Regions from separate parts of the Homo sapiens genome. Here region 1 is linked to region 2. The links are contacts of gene promoters, found by promoter capture Hi-C in human tissues and cell types (Jung and others, 2019). All regions are on one chromosome and are shown on one strand. The core of a region is centred on a gene start or on the middle of the fragment in contact, and the rest is flanking DNA. Distances in the headings are between cores, read along the strand shown.

Evidence for each region. The method cuts DNA at HindIII sites, captures the fragments that hold promoters and counts their contacts. A contact is called where the count stands out against the background at its distance.
Region 1: a fragment that was not itself captured here is called in contact with the fragment with the promoter of AOC2 in region 2 in 1 of the 25 tissues and cell types used here (ovary).

The regions. Positions count from the first base shown.
Region 1 is chr17:42,707,391-42,712,192 of GRCh38, forward strand. EZH1 (enhancer of zeste 1 polycomb repressive complex 2 subunit) reads right to left here. Exons shown (of 21, transcript NM_001991.5): 13 at 2,456-2,547; 14 at 1,486-1,526; 15 at 568-693. It overlaps MIR6780A (microRNA 6780a), which reads right to left and starts at 761; the gene lies at 694-761. The HindIII fragment of the contact is 8,591 bases long and covers 1-4,802 here.
Region 2 is chr17:42,840,919-42,846,183 of GRCh38, forward strand. AOC2 (amine oxidase copper containing 2) reads left to right here and starts at 3,662. Exons shown (of 4, transcript NM_009590.4): 1 at 3,662-5,265. The coding sequence starts at 3,709. It overlaps PSME3 (proteasome activator subunit 3), which reads left to right. Exons shown (of 11, transcript NM_005789.4): 11 at 580-2,842. The coding sequence ends at 660. The HindIII fragment of the contact is 18,620 bases long and covers 1-5,265 here.

The DNA of each region.
Region 1 (4,802 bases), core at 1,376-3,875, 130 kb before region 2:
AGCTGGGACTACAAGCATGTACCACCATGTCTGGCTAATTTTTGTATTCTTAGTAGAGACGGGGTTCACCATGTTGGCCAGGCTGGTCTTGAGTCCTGACCTTAAGTGATCTGCCCGACTTGGCCTTCCAAGTGCTGGGATTATAGGCGTGAGCCACCACACCTGGCCTAATTTTTTTATTTTTAGTAGAGATGAGGTTTCGCCAAGTTGGCCACGCTGGTCTTGAACTCCTGACCTCAAGTGATCCGCCTACCCAAAGTGCTGGGATTACAGGCGTGAGTGACTGCGCCTGCTGCCCCCCACATTTCTTAATTCTCCCCTAGAAGACAAAGTTGGGAAAGTATCTGATTTCTGTGTAATTGCTGCTTTTAGAATCATGAACCTAAACGTTTTCCAGAAACGACTCTCCCAGATCTCATGCACTTATTTCATTTGTAGAATCCCTAAAACACAGCAAAGGGGATATCAGAAGGCCATAAGCAGTAAAGGGCACAGGAATGGGGCAAGCCTAGGGCACACTGGAGCCAACTGTTTTGGTAGACTATACAGAAAACGTAGCACACTTACAGTCTGGGTTGCACTGGCAGAACTTCTCACAGAAATTCTGAGTCATGATGCAGGGGCAGGTGCTGTCACAGGGGCGGTCTGGGTGGTCGCAGGGTTGGTAGTTGTACACTTGTGTGGAAGAGTTATCTAGGAAAGAAAACAGAGGAGGATGCTGCTGTGACCATACTCTCCAGCTGTCTTCCCTCCCAAGTGTCCAGCTGCCCTGATTCAGAGGAGGCTGGTCCTAACAATCTCCTTGGACACACATTTAGCACCTGAAGTGAGAAGACAGGGATGACCGTTGTTCATAAGCTGCAGTGGGGTGATCTGCTTTGTGGGGAGGGTGTGGAGATGGTCTGGGACAACAGGGAAGCTATTCTAAACATTAAATGAGGTCTGGAACCTAGCAAATGGCACACTAGAAAAGTCACATACTGGCCAGGCACAGTGGCTCACGCCTGTAATCCCAGCACTTTGCGAGGCCGAGGCAGGTGGATCATTTGAGGTCAGGAGTTCGAGACCAGCCTGGCCAACATGGTGAAACCCCGTCTCTACTAAAAATACAAAAATTAGCCAGGCATGGTGGTACATGCCTGTAATCCCAGCTACTTGGGAAGCTGAGGCAGGAGAATTGCTTGAACCCGGGAGGCGGAGGTTGCAGTGAGCCAAGATTGTGCCACTGCACTCCAGCCTGGGTGACAGAGCGAGGCTCCATCTCAAAAAAAAGAAAAATCACAGACCACAAGGCCCTTAATGTTACCTCCTAAGAGGTCTTCTCAGTTGCAGTGAGAGGCTCAGCTGTTCTCAGTTGCTGCAGAGAATTCTGCAATCTGCGGAAGTGGCACAGGGTCAACAAGTGCAGCTGGAGGTGGGGTAGGGTGATGACCACAGAGTGAGGCCTCCAGCTGAACTGCTGAAGAATGCCCTGGTAGAACTTACCTTTCTTCAGCTGAATCTTCCTGCAGTGTGCAGCCCACAATCTGAAAAAGACAGGAAGGACAGGTCTCAGTCACGGCCCTAGGGAGCTCTGCAAATGCAGGTAAATGACAACGTGACTTGCTCTGAGGGACTGTGTTTGATGACTGGGGAGTATCTTCCCAAACCCCTCAACAGGACGACTTTGGTACACAGAAGCTAGAGTCCATCCTAAATCCAGCTGGCCTGTGCTACAAGAGTTAAACTTAAACACAACCCCTCCCAAACAAGCAAATAACATAAAAGAACACAACACAGAAATAAAAGAAAGCCCAAGCCTATTGGTCTATTATAAAGCTATTGTTTCTCTCCAAATCTCTCCCTTTGTCTTTGTGGAGGTGGAGATATGGGGGAGTTTCAAGATGGGGAGGTGGGAAGGCCTTTCAGGAATCTTCTCTGAAAGAACTGAAAGGGAGGAGCCACAGGGATTTCCTTCTGTATCTAGAAGTGGTGTCAGCTCCTTCCTCTGATAGGTGATAGTCACTAGGGAACAGGGCCAGGGTGCAGAATTTTTTTAAAAACTTCCAACCTAAGTAAAGGCTATCATGTAACTCAGAAAAACAACACAAACCAAACAAATAAATAAACTCTGATCAGAGTTGAGAAATGGGTAAGGTGGTAACAAAACCAACAAGGAGAAATGGCTTCAGGGTGGAGCCATGAGGCCAGCTCATGTCCTATTGGCCAGAAGCTTAAATAGAAAAACAGACAGTTATGGTCCACAGCACTGGGGGACAAGAAGAGGGCTGATCTAAGGCACAGACCCTCAGGGAGCACTCAGGAGGCTGGCTCTCAGTCATGTGATGCCAAGCTGATGGGCTCACACAGCCTGTGCGGTTGCTAAAGAGGGAGGCAGATGGGAACTCCAAGGGGAGGTCAGAGCACAGGGAACAGCCTGGCTGTAAAACAAAACACTTTGTCCAACCCTTCTTGCCTGTGCTTTCTTTTCTTCTTCTGTGAGGGGTTCATGAGCTCATCTGTTGGCAGCTTCAGGATAAGTGATTCTTTGACTGCAAACTGAAAGACCTGGAAGAGAAATCCAACGGGCCTGTCACTCCTCGAGCAAGGGGGTCAGGTAAGTGGCCCAGCTGGGTGCTGGCCTTGGGAGGGTTCTGAGAAACTCAGGCAGCTGACCAAGCCTCTCATCAGTCAGGGAGAGACAGAGTGCCACTGGAACATTGGGTTACTGGCTCTGAAGTTCATTCCTAATTATTTATCCTGACTCAGGAAAGGAGAAATACTGAGCACAGTAATACCGCCCCTGGTCAGAAGCTGTCACCTACTACTCTTTCTACCAAGCCACGGGTAGAAGAGTGGGCTGACTGTGACCAACAGTATCTTCTTCTTTTTAGGAAGGGCAACGCTGTGCCTTGTGTAACTGAGTGTAAGGCAGGACAGGACAGGACAGGAATGGTTTCAGTGGGCTAAATATTAGCTCCCTCTGTCAGTATAAAGATACCGGAGCCTCAGCCATTTCAATAGGATGTGTTTTTTCTCTTAAAGCACTGGTTTTTAGTTTTTCCTTTTCTTTGTTGGGGCTATTGGCCCTTTGTGGGGGATCTTTGAAAACTGTAACTATTCTCAGGAAAATACAGACAAGAACATTCTTGCATACAAATCCATAGATGGTTACGTTGAGAACCTGTGATCAGGGAAATAGGTATGAGCTCCAAAATGAAAGCAAAGGGCACTTCAGCTCATGGTTCTGTTTTTGTTTGTTTTTTTTTTTTTTTTTTAAGAGAGAGGGTCTCATACTCTTGGCCAGGCTGGAGTGCAGTGGTGCCATCATAGCTCAATGTAGTATAGAACTCCTGGGCTCAAGCCATCTTCCCACCTCAGCCTCCTGAGTACTAGGACTACAGGTACGTGGCTTTTTTTTTTTTTTTTTTTTTGTAGAAATGGGGTCTCACTTTGTTGCCCACACTGGTCCTGAAATCCTGGCTTCAAGCGATCCTCCCACCATGGCTTCCCAAAGCACTGGAATTCTAGGTGTGAGCCACCTTGCCCAGTCCATGGTTCTATTAATTGTTCTCAGTACAGGAAGCATGAAGAAGAGGCCACAGAGTCTCCTCCAGAAGGTAGGAAGCCAAAGCATTGGGGTTCCTTTCCTGTTGGACATGCTGGCCCTGACAGCTGCCTCCTTGTCCCTGTTCTTCAGTCTGTCTTCTCACTGTGGTCTTTTCCTGTCTTTTCCTGGGCCAATCACTTGAGGTCAGGAGTTTGAGACCAGCCTGGCCAACATGGTGAAACCCCATCTCTACTAAAAAAAAATACAAAAATGGCCAGGCACATTGGCTCATGCCTGTAATCCCAGCACTTTGGGAGGCCGAGGCGGGTGGATCACCTGAGGTCAGGAGTTTGAGACCAGCCTGGCCAACATGGTGAAACCCCGTCTCTATTACAAATACAAAATTAGCCGGGCGTGGTGGTGCACACCTGTAATCCCAGCTACTTGGGAGGCTGTGGCAGAAGAATCACTTGAACCTGGGAGGCGGAGGCTGCAGTGAGCTGAGATCATGCCACTGCACTCCAGCCTGGGCAACAGACCGAGACTCCATCTCAAAAAAACAAAACAAAAAAAATTAGCTGGGTGTGGTGGTGGGCACCTGTAATCCCAGTTGCTTGGGAGGATGAGGCAGAAGAATCACTTGAACTTGGGAGGCGGAGGTTGCAGTGAACCAAGATTATGCCACTGCACCACTCCAGCCTGGGCAACAGAGCGAGATTCTGTCTCAAAAAAAAAAAAAAATTAGCTGGGCATACTGGCCTGCACCTGTAGTCCCTTGCTACTTGCTTGGCTGAGGGGAGAGGACTGCTTGAGCCCAGGAGGCGGAGGTTGCAGTGAGCTATGATCATGCCACTGCACTCCAGCCTGGGCGACACAGTGAAACCCTGTCTCAAAGACAAAATAAAGATAATCTAGTGATAGAAAATGTGGAGAATAAAATGACTGAAGAGGCTGGCGGAGTGGTGGAGGGAGCAGCAGCTGCAGCAGCTGCAGCAGCAGCAGCAGTGTGCTCATTAACAAGAGCCACAGAAAGACCTGGGAGTCCCTTCTGGGAAAGGGGTACACATTTAGAAAGGAGGCCAGAGCCAAAAAAAAGAAGCGAAAGAGTGTAGGACCCAGAAGCATTAAATAGAGTCCAGACAGAAATGAGCATTCAGCAAGGAGGAGGCGGGTCCCCAAACATCATTAGGCCTGGCACTTGCAGAAGGGCCATGTTTGGGAAACTCACAGAAGCACAGGCTCATCAGGGACTGAACTTAAGACAACTTCTCTC
Region 2 (5,265 bases), core at 2,412-4,911:
GTCAGGAGATCGAGACCATCCTGGCTAACATGGTGAAACCCCATCTGTACTAAAAATAAAAAAAATTAGCCGGGTGTGGTGGCAGGCGCCTGTAGTCCCAGCTACTCAGGTGGCTGAGGCAGGAGAATGGCATGAACCTGGGAGGCGGAGGTTGCAGTCAGCCGAGATCGCGCCATTGCACTCCAGCCTGAGCGATAGAGCAAGACCGTGTCTCAAAAAAAAAAAAAAAAAAAAATACAGTAAGTCTTCACTTAATGTTGTCCATAGGTTCTTAGAAACTGCGACTTTAAAAATGATGTATATCAAAACCAAGTTTTTTTTTCATTAACATTGTAACAAAATGACATCGAACAAAATGATGTTATTTGAAACCAGGTTATTTGAGGACCTTCTGTACTTGATTTGCTTACCTGCTGTACTTTAATTTCCTTCAAGTCGCAGTTGCTAAGAACCTATTGATGACATTAAGGACTTACCGTATGCAGATGATTGCTTGGGGATTTGTGAAGGGGTCTCTCATTTTCTTGATGAGGTAAGGGTTGTACAGATATGTGATTCCCCTGATCCCTCTTCTCTCAGGTCACTCTACATGACATGATCCTGAAAAATATCGAGAAGATCAAACGGCCCCGGAGCAGCAATGCAGAGACTCTGTACTGAGGCCAGGGCCAGGGCCAGGGGACTCTGTGAGTCTGGCTCAAGACCGACATTGCCTTGGTTTGTTACATGACTATCGTGATGGGGAAACTGGCTGGAAATAGTAATCACACCTCTCTGTTTTTAGTTAGAGTCTAATGAAACTCTCATCTAGTTCTGTGATGTGTTTACCTCTTTTTTCAGGCCTCAGGAACTCTTCTATTTCCTTCCCTAATACCCCACACCCAACCTGTCGTAATTTCTGGAGAACTCCAGGTTTGTGTGTGCAGGATGTTGGCACAAAAATACCTGTGTTTTCATTCTCCCCCTCTCTCCCTCCTGTGTCTTGCGCTTTATGTTTTCTTCCGTTTGATAATTAGTTGGTTAAAAGCTGAGGGAACCGGAAGGAAAGTGCTAGGTGTTTTTTAGGAACTAGGGTGGCGGGGGGACGAACTTCTCTTCCTCACATGAGGTTACTGTTTCTTTCCTCTGTGGGGCATTGGATCCTCCCACAGTTGCCCTGGTGATGACTTAGGGCTTCCCATCTGTGTACATCCCACTTTGAATCTTGATCGTGACAAGAAATACCTTAGGCCTTCAGTCAATTCCGAAGCTCCTTCAGTTGTTTTTATAATGGGCGTTTTCACATGCACATATGTGTATGCATGTATACGCCCATACAGACATGCACACACAGACTCCTACTCCATTAGCTAACATACCCTCCCTCTCCACAACCCCTGTCACATACCTTTCAGGAGGTGACAGTTGTCTTAGTTGTCATCTACCCAGACAAACGTCCTGGGCCCGTCCTCCCTCCTGATACTGTAGCCTCTTGGTACCCAGGGTGAGTTGGTGGAGAACAGAGAGATGAGAAGCAGAGGGCTTGGGGAAAGCCTGTTCCTCTCTGACTCAGCCCTTTTTGGCATTATTGCAAGAGCTTGACTCCTGGTTGCCTTTTCCCAGCCAGTTTTCAGTTGGGGTGAAGGTTTCTGCAAGTGTGAGGTCCAGATGCTGCTGCTCATGTTGGGCTTTCCTTTTGGGAACTATTTCTCTTTATTTATAGTGTCGGGCTTCCGGGGAAAGCAATCATTGGTGTGTATGTGTATGTGCATGCACACACGTGCATATACACATTTGTGTATGTGGAAATGTGCTGGGCAAGTCAAAACTATAGAAGAGTTGCCTCCTGTCTCTCGAATCTTCCAGAGATATCACTTAATTGTTAACAGCTTTTGTGTTAATCCCCTTCAGCCCCTAGCTCTTTTATTCTACCACGGCTGGAGAGTTGATACCTGCAGTCAGCCTGCCAGTGACTCTTAGTGTCTGTTTCTGACTTATTTTTCCTGTCTCTGTCTTCCAACCCCCAATAATATTTCCACCGGGGATGCATCATTTTTACTCCCAATATTCTGTAGAGAGGGAGTCAGGATGCTGTCTTCCCACGAATAGTACTCAGTAACAAACCAATTGCATTTTAGTTGGGCAGTGCTCCCACCCACCCTCCAGATCCCTTCCAGCTAAAACCCTTCCCCCTTCCCTCCATGTGTTTCTCAGTTTCCCGTTTCGTTTGTTGGACTGTTCCACTGCCCCTCCTCCTCACCCTATCACCCATGGATCGTAATGTAAAATTCTTTTACCATGTCAAGAAATTATTAAAAATACAGGTACTTTGACCTCTTTCTAAAGCCGCAGACCCTGGTGCAATGCTCTGGTGGCTAGGGATGTACTCATGCTCATATGTGTGCACGCTTGGACACCCACCTCCATGGACACCTAGCCACCCTGTTGTGTGTCCTTATGCCAGTTGAGCTGAATCTTTTCCCCAGTATAGTGGAAAGACTGAGGCTTCTGCCTACTGAGCAAGGTTGGGTGCTTCATTTGTGTTCAGTCTGAATTATGGGAAAGTTAGCTCTTCCCAGACCTAAGCTGCCTTCTCTCCCTACTTTCAGAAGATCCTAGTTCCTTCCTTCCCGAGTGATACCCATGAACTGCCAGTAGAGGCTGCTATCGTTCCATGTGTAAGGAATGAACTGGTTCAAGGCGCGTCCTACCCAGTCATTTTCTTTACCTTATACTAATTCTTCCTGAATAATGTCTTCAGTTTCTTGAGGAGACTCCTAGTTTTGGTTTTCAAATTACTTGGAGGGCTGCCTAGGAATCTATCTCCCTCTGAAATAAAGTTTCCTCATCTTCCACCTTGCAAGTAGCCTTCTGGTTTCCAATGATCCCCTCGTTGTCTCTGTAAAAAGAGTTTAAGGTCTTGAACAATGGAGGAGCAGCTGCTCTGTTCTGTTTCAGAGATGACTACCAAAAGCTAGCGGTTTGTGAGTGCCTCCCCTGTGCCAGGCTGTTAAGTACCTAATGTGCATGATCACATTTAATCTTCAGGAATCTATAGGATAGTTGTATCTATTTGTTACAGATGAGGACACTGAGACTCAGGATAAGTATTTCCGCTAAGGTTACACAGCTGAGGGAACTGGGATTGGTGGACAAACCTGATTACTAAGCCCAGGCCCTCAGCCACTCCACTGGTTGGAAATGGCCTGACTACAAATCAAGGGCTTGGCATTAGGCAACAAGTAGAATTCAGTGCTTACTGCTGAACATGGCAGTGAATCCTGGAGCTGTTGGGATGCAGTTCCTGCCAGGAGGTAGGAAAATGGACAGCTTAGTGCTTGCATGCAGGCTGCAGAACTTAATTGGGCATCTGAGGTTTGTACTCTTCCTGAGACCCATTCCAGGTGGAAACTGGAGGTTAGCATCGTTAACCCAGATTCCCTTTCATCTGGTCTAAATGATGGAAATCAGTAGTTGGTACTGACTGCTACCAGTGGGAGTTCAGGGGCAAGGAAGAGGCTATGCATGTGGAAGCAGTGCCCTGGGCCAAACCACAGGACAGAAAATTGGAACAGAATTACATAAATCAAGGTCAGAAATTTCCTGCCCAACCCATGGGGTGGAGTTTTCTCCCTTCCTATCCATCCTAGCGAATATAAACCCCGACTTGATGTCAGTAACTGGAAGGAGCAGCTGTTAGAATTCTGATTTCAGCTCTCAGCATCCACCATGCATCTCAAGATAGTCCTGGCGTTCCTGGCACTGTCCCTCATTACCATCTTTGCCCTGGCCTATGTTTTGCTGACCAGCCCAGGTGGTTCCAGCCAGCCTCCCCACTGCCCCTCTGTATCCCATAGGGCCCAGCCCTGGCCACACCCTGGCCAGAGCCAGCTGTTTGCAGACCTGAGCCGAGAGGAGTTGACAGCTGTGATGCGCTTTCTGACCCAGCGGCTGGGGCCAGGGCTGGTGGACGCAGCCCAGGCTCAGCCCTCGGACAACTGCATCTTCTCAGTGGAGCTGCAGCTGCCCCCCAAGGCTGCAGCCCTGGCCCACCTGGACAGGGGGAGCCCCCCACCTGCCCGGGAGGCACTGGCCATCGTCCTCTTTGGTGGACAACCCCAACCCAATGTGAGTGAGCTGGTGGTGGGGCCGCTGCCTCACCCCTCGTACATGCGGGATGTGACTGTGGAGCGTCACGGCGGGCCCCTGCCCTATCACCGTCGCCCGGTGCTGAGAGCTGAGTTTACACAGATGTGGAGGCATCTGAAAGAGGTGGAGCTACCCAAGGCACCCATCTTCCTGTCGTCCACCTTCAACTACAATGGCTCTACCCTGGCAGCTGTGCATGCCACCCCTCGGGGCTTGCGCTCAGGGGACCGAGCTACCTGGATGGCCCTCTACCATAACATCTCAGGGGTTGGTCTTTTCCTTCACCCCGTGGGGCTGGAGCTACTACTGGACCACAGGGCCCTGGACCCTGCCCACTGGACTGTCCAGCAGGTCTTCTACCTTGGGCACTACTATGCAGACTTGGGCCAGTTGGAACGGGAGTTTAAGTCTGGCCGGTTGGAAGTGGTTAGAGTCCCTCTACCTCCACCAAATGGAGCTTCATCCCTGAGGTCTCGGAACTCTCCAGGTCCTCTTCCCCCTCTTCAGTTCTCGCCCCAGGGTTCCCAGTACAGTGTGCAAGGAAACCTGGTGGTATCCTCCCTCTGGTCATTTACCTTTGGCCATGGGGTGTTCAGCGGCCTGAGGATTTTTGATGTTCGGTTCCAGGGTGAGCGAATAGCCTATGAAGTCAGTGTCCAGGAGTGTGTATCTATCTATGGTGCCGATTCACCCAAGACGATGCTGACTCGCTATTTGGATAGCAGCTTTGGACTCGGCCGTAACAGCCGAGGCTTGGTGCGGGGAGTGGACTGCCCCTATCAAGCCACGATGGTGGACATCCATATATTAGTGGGCAAAGGGGCAGTCCAGCTGCTTCCAGGGGCTGTGTGTGTATTTGAGGAAGCCCAGGGACTGCCCCTTCGAAGGCACCACAATTACCTTCAAAATCATTTCTATGGTGGTTTGGCCAGCTCAGCCCTTGTGGTCAGGTCTGTGTCATCTGTGGGCAACTATGACTACATTTGGGACTTTGTGTTGTACCCAAATGGGGCACTTGAAGGGCGGGTCCATGCCACGGGTTATATCAACACAGCTTTCCTGAAAGGGGGAGAGGAGGGCCTCCTCTTTGGGAACCGTGTGGGGGAAAGAGTGCTGGGAACGGTGCACACACATGCC